Linked DNA regions of Homo sapiens: region 1 is linked to region 2. Evidence: promoter capture Hi-C in 16 types of primary human blood cells and fetal thymus (Javierre and others, 2016). All regions are on one chromosome and are shown on one strand. Each heading gives the region's core, a stretch centred on a gene start or on the middle of the fragment in contact. The rest is flanking DNA. Distances are from core to core; before and after follow the strand shown. Region 1 overlaps LOC102723714 (a long non-coding RNA gene). Region 2 holds the start of CYP11A1 (cytochrome P450 family 11 subfamily A member 1).

Region 1 (3,013 bases), core at 318-2,817, 130 kb after region 2:
ACCGTGTTAGCCAGGATGGTCTCGATCTCCTGACCTCTTGATCCGCCCGCCTCGGCCTCCCAAAGTGCTGGGATTATAGACGTGAGACACTGCGCCCGGCCAATTTTTCTATTTTTTAGTAGAGACGGGGTTTCACCATGTTGGCCAGGCTGGTCTCGAACTCCTGACCTCAAGTGATCCACCCACTTTGGCCTCCCAAAGTGCTGGGATTATAGGCGTGAGCCACCACGCCCGGCCTAATTTTTATATTTTTTTGGAGAGACAGGGTTTCACCATGTTGGCCAGGCTGGTCTCAAACTCCTGACCTCAAGTGATCCACCCACCTCGGACTTCCAAAGTGCTAGGATTACAGGTGTGAGCCACCATGCCGGGCAGCAAATTCTTCACGGCCTTGATAAGTAGTGTGTTGTTATGGTTTGAATGTGGCCCCTAAAAATCTGTGTGTTAGAAACTTAATTGTTCTCCCCTCATAAATGGATTAATGTCAGTTCTGCCCTCATGAATGAATATATGGAGTAATGAGAGTTCTGCCCTCTTGAATGGAGTAATGTCATTATCATGGGAGTAGGTTCGTTATCACGGGAATGGCTTTGCAATAAAAACAAGCTTTGTTTTTTTGTTATAAAAGCAAGCTCTATCATGGGAATGGCTTTGTTATAAAAGCAAGCAAGAGTAACCAGAATCTTTCTGGTTGCCCTCTCACCATGTGATGTTCTCTGCTATGTTATGACACAGCAAGAAGGATCTCACCAGATCCTGACTTCAGGCTCTTGGGCTTCCCAGCCTCCAGAACCATGAACTCAGTAAACTTCTTATAAACTACCCAGTCTGTGCTATGCAGTGAGAGCAACAGAAAACAGATGAAAACGTGTTCTCTGGGCCTTCTCATGAGGCATAATTAGCTAGGAGATCTTCTGGTTACCTATAGTCTATCCATTCTGGCACACCTATTTCCCTGAGTCTTTTCATTCTACCATCACTATCTGCCATAGCAATTCCGGCATGTAAGCTTTCTTTGGCATAGGTCATCACTTTTTCCATGCTTCTAGGATCCATCCTGGTAGTAAGATTGTACCATCTCCTATTGTCCTTGCCAGGATGTTAAATCTTGTATTTTGAAAGAGAGATTCCTGCCGGGCGCAGTGGCTCACACCTGAAATCCCGGCACTTTGGGAGGCCGAGGCAGGCGGATCACAAGGTCAGGAGTTCGAGACCAGCCTGGCCAACATGGTGAAATCCCGTCTCTACTAAAAATACAAAAATTATCTGGGCATGGTGGCACGTGCCTGTAATCCCAGCTACTCGAGAGGCTGAGGCAGGAAAGTTGTTTGAACCCGGGAGGCAGAGGTTGCAGTGAACTGAGATTGCGCCATTGCACTCCAGCCTGACAGGGTGAGACTCCATCTCAAAAAGAAAGAAAAGAAACGAAAAGAAACAAAGAGGGATTCCCAAGTCAATAAACTCTTCCCTATCCAATTTTATATTCCTTCTCCTTCATCAAGCACTCTCAGAATCCAGTTCCACATGTATCTCCCTGGCTCCTGCCAATACATGCTGGCTAGGTCTTGCTATTTCTGTGGCATATAGTCCCTTTCCACCCCTATCATACCCAGCACCTCTCCAGCTGGGTTATGCTGTAGCTAACCTAGTATAGGCTAGGAGGCAATGTGGGGGCAGATTCTGAGGGGGAGCTGTTGCTTTGTGGAGAAAGGCACTGCATTGTCCCTCAGCAGGGAGAGAGTGGTAGTTCTTACTAGGGAGGAGTGGGCCAATTCTGTAGGCTCAGGAGATTCAGAGGAATTTGTGGAGTCAAAATATTCAGGAGAGGCCAAGGCGAGTGGATCACTTATGGTCAGGAGTTCGAGACCAACCTGGCCAACATGGTGAAACCCCGTCTCCACTAAAAATACAAAAAAAACTAGCTGGGCATGGTGGTGCATGACTGTAGTCCCAGCTACTTGGGAGGCTGTGGCAGGAGAGTCGCTTGAATCCTGGAGGCAGAGGCTGCAGTGAGTCAACATCACACCACTGCACTCCAGCCTGGGAGACAGAGCGAGACTCCGTCTCAAAAAAAAAATCTTTAGGAGCATCCACTCTGATATCTCCATTCCACGTGTCAGGGTCCCAAGCTTTTCCAACCAGGACTTTGACTTTAGCATAAGAGATGTGCCTTATTTGGACATTTAACTGTCTTTGAAGTCAGTTGCTCAGATTATTATTATTATTATTATTTTAGATGGAGTCTTGCACTGTCCCCCAGGCCGGAGTGCAGTGGCACGATCTCCATTCACTGCAACCTCTGCCTCCCAGGTTCAAGCGATTCTCCTGCCTCAGCCTCCCTAGTAGCTGGGATTACAGGCGCACGCCACCATGCCCAGCTAATTTTTTGTATTTTTAGTACAGACGGGGTTTCACTATCTTAGCCAGGCTGGTCTTGAACTCCTGACCTGGTGATCTGCCCGCCTCAGCCTCCCAAAGTGCTGGGATTACAGGTGTGGGCCACCACGCCTGGCCAGTTGCTTAGATTATTAAGTCCTAGGCTTTGTCCTTGCTTTTCTCCACCCTTTCACTGCTAGAGATGTTGGCTTATTTGTATAAACCAAAGAGGCCTTTTCCTTTTCATAACCTGGATTTTTTTTTTTTTTTTTTTTTGAGATGATCTTACTCTGTTGCCCAGGCTGAAGTGCAGTGGCACGATCTTGGCTCACTATAACCTTTGCCTCCCGGATTCAAGCAATTCTCCTGCCTCAGCCTCCCAAGTAGCTGGGACTACAGGTATGTGCCATCACGCCTGACTAATTTTTGTATTTTTAGCAGAGATGGGGTTTCGCCATGTTGGCCAGGCTGGTCTCAAACTCCTAACCTTAGGTGATCCACCTGCCTTGGCCTCCCAAAGTGCTGGGATTACAGGCATGAGCCATTGCACCTGGCCCCATAACCTGGATTTTAATGCATGTTACTGGCCCTAAGTTGTTTATTATCCTGTAGCACATCCATGGAGCTTGGCAATAGC
Region 2 (3,276 bases), core at 454-2,953:
GGAACTTGGCGGCAGAGTGACTGGGACCTAGGACCTGCGGTGGGGCCGCCGCCGCCTCCGCGGGGCCGAGCGCCTGGACCTCGCCCTGAGGTAAACGCGGGTCGACCCGGGGGGCGGATGGGCTCGGGCTGTGTCGAGGGGAGGCGGAGGTGAGCGACCCGCGAAGAGCGCAGGAGCAGGCCGGGGGCCACGCTAGGGCGGACCCAATTTCGGAATAGCGCGGCCCGGGCGGCGGCGTGCGCTGGGAGGAATGCTGGGTCTGTCGCTAGCGCCAAACTTGACCACGCTGCGACCTTTTCACTCTGTGCTCTGACCTTCAAATCTCCCTCCCCCGATTTTTTTTTTTTTTTTTTTTTTGAGACAGAGTTTCGCTTTTGTTGCCCAGGGCGGGAGTGCAGTGACATGATCTCGGCTCACTGCAACCTCCACCTCCTGGGTTCGGGCGAGTGTCCTGCCTCAGCCTCCCGAGTAGCTGGGATTATAGACCCCCGCCACCATGCCCGGCTAATTTTTTTTATTTTATTTATTTATTTATTTATTTATTTATTTATTTTTGTAGTAGAGACAGGGTTTCACCATGTTGGCCGGGTTGATCTCGAACTCCTGTCCTCAAGTGATCCGCCTGCCTCAGCCTCCCAAAGTGCTGGGATTACAAGCGTGAGCCACCGCACCCGGCCTTCTCCCAATTTTTAAAACTCGCTGGCTGGGCTGACAGCTACAGGGCCAGGAATTCAAAACTTAGCCTCACCAGTCTCCCCTCCTCAGACCGAGGAGGTTGTTTTGTTTTGTTTGAGACAGAATCTCACTCTGTCGCCCAGGCTGGATTGCAATGGTGCGATCTCGGCTCACTGCAACCTCTGCCTCTCCGGTTCAAGCCATTCTCCTGCTTCAGCCTCCCGAGTAGCTGGGATTACAGGCGCCTGCCACCACACCCAGCTAATTTTTGTATTTTTAGTAGAGACGGGGTTTCATCATGTTGGCCAGGATGGTCTCGAACTCTTGATCTCAAGTGATCCGCCCACCTCGGCCTCCCAAAGTGCTGGGATTATGGGTGTGAGCCACCATGCCTGGCCAGACCTGGGGTTTGGACCCATTAAAGAGCTTCCTTACAGATGGCTGGCGGTCTTGCCACCAATTGTTTCAAAAGTAGATGTCTGGTTTAGAGTACTTAAGACATTCACAGATTCAAATGTTGAATTTTGAAATATCCCTGATATATTTCTGTATTGTATTACCAAAAAAAAAAAAAAAAAAGAAGTTAGACAGGAGTTTGGAACCAGAGAACAGCCTGTTGGGGGAGTGGGGACTACAGCAGGGCTACCCAGGCCCCTCCTCCTCCCTGTCCCTTCGGCTCCCACCCTCTGCCAGGCTTACCTGTAAATCGGGCCATACTTCTGGAAATTCTGGACATGGTGAAGGTGGACTTTGTGTGTGCCCGTCTCCCTCCAGAAATGGTACAGGTTTAGCCAGCCATTGTCACCAGGAGAGGGGATCTCATTGAAGGGGCGAGGACTGCGGGTGGAGATGCCAGCTCCCTCGCCAGTGGGCACCCTGAGACGCCCCAGCCCCTCCCTGGGGGCACTCAGAAAGGTCTGGCAGCCTTTGACCAGGACTGAGCGTGGGGGAAGACCCTTGGCCAGCATGCTGTCCCCACAGCTGTGACTGTACCTGCTCCACTTCAGCGGGGACTGCTAGGATGACTGTAGCCCTGGGCCACCAGGGCCAAGATTATAACTACCAGCTCAAGGCCATACCAGAAGCTGATAAAATGTTCACGTCCTTCCTCCTGCTGCAGGCTCAAACCCGCAGACAGCTCCTCCCCTACTCGGTATGAAGGTTCAGTCTGGAATTTCTGCAGCGTGAGGTTCTCCAAAGGACAGGGAGACCCCTCTGTCTCTGCCCTCAGTGCCAGCCCTAGCAGACTCCTGAAATATCTGCCTGTGCTTTTGCCTGAGCTGGGGCCTCCCACTGGCCCCTGCAGCGGAGTCCATGCCCTGGCAGCCATTGGTCAAGACTGCAGACAACCTGTGTTTGGGGGAAATGAGGGGCCCAAGAGAAGGTCAGAGCTATCTTGCCAGCTTGGGCAACATACGTCTTAGTTATGGCCCCACTGTATAGACACACATCATTGAACAACAGGGATAAGTTCTGAGAAATGCATCCTTAGGCTATTTTATTTTATTTTATTTTATTTTATTTTATTTTATTTTAAGAGAGTTTCATTCTTGTTGCCCAGGCTGGAGCGCAATGGCACAGTTTCACCTTGGAACCCTAATCCTCGTCGTCTCTCCCCAGTTGACCCAGATTTGGGGCTGTAATTCAGTACAGCTGACTCAGAGGGGCTCTGGGTCCCTTGAGCTGAGGTCTGTGGTCAGGCTCCACTCTGGACACACTCTAAGACCTTGGCAAATCTGGTTGCCATGGAACTCAGGATGTCAGCTCTTCCCTGTCCACACACTTGATCTGTGCTGCTTTCCCCTCAGAGCTGCTTCCATACCCCCTCCCATCATATCATATCCCCAGACCCATCCTTCCAGCCCAGGTCAGCCCCCACACCCACCCCCCATCACCCTGCACCTACCACTTTCCCAAACAACAAGGGTCAGTCACCTGTAGAGTTTTCAAGTCATTTCAACAAAATTACAGCCCACTTGGTAAAAATGTGTAGGTCAGAAAACATACATGTGCCATGTAGAGCATTTCATGACAGCAATCTACACTATACCTTATACTTATCATTGGAAGGTACAACTTCTTGCTTTTTTTCCCCAAAATCTTATTTTCTGGCAAATAAGGCATTTAAAACACACATCTAAGAGACAGAAAATAGACTGGTGGTTGCTTAGAGCTAGGGGGATAGAGGAATTAGAGGATGGGACATAAAGTGTGTAGGGATTCTTAGGATGATGAAAATGAAAATATTCTAAAGTATATTGTGGTAATTATTGAACAACTCTCTGATACACTAAAAGCCATTGAATTGCATACTTTAAATGGGTGAATTGTATGGTGTGTGAATTATATCTCAATAGAGCTGTTACCAAACACACACACACACACACACACACGAGTGACATCCTCCTGGCCTCTTCTGTTGTATGTGTCAGCCCATAGATCACCCACAATGGCAAAAGTTGTCCTTACACAGCCACTTGACCCCAGACTCCAATACTGTTGAACCACTTTCAACAAATTTAGAGCAACAGTTTTTAGAAGAAAAAAAAAAAGTACTTATCAAGAGTGGTTGTTGCTCTTCCCGCTGGAGTGACCACTACC

Evidence for each region. Contacts are between HindIII fragments. The CHiCAGO score rates a contact against its expected background, and 5 or more counts as called.
Region 1: a contact is called between a fragment that was not itself captured here and the fragment with the promoter of CYP11A1 in region 2, in 1 of 17 cell types (fetal thymus). The highest score is 5.6, in fetal thymus.

Annotation. Positions count from the first base shown.
Region 1 is chr15:74,498,926-74,501,938 of GRCh38, forward strand. The region is part of intron 1 of LOC102723714 (a long non-coding RNA gene); the gene reads left to right. Among named protein-coding and RNA genes, the nearest start is that of UBL7-DT, 39 kb to the left of the region's middle. The HindIII fragment of the contact is 1,120 bases long and covers 1,008-2,127 here.
Region 2 is chr15:74,365,943-74,369,218 of GRCh38, forward strand. CYP11A1 (cytochrome P450 family 11 subfamily A member 1) reads right to left here and starts at 1,704. Exons shown (of 9, transcript NM_000781.3): 1 at 1,375-1,704. The coding sequence starts at 1,643. LOC124903524 (a long non-coding RNA gene) reads left to right here. Exons shown (of 2, transcript XR_007064709.1): 2 at 1-3,276. RefSeq lists a silencer at 87-246, a promoter at 1,654-3,276 and an enhancer at 1,836-1,860. The HindIII fragment of the contact is 5,873 bases long and covers 1-3,276 here.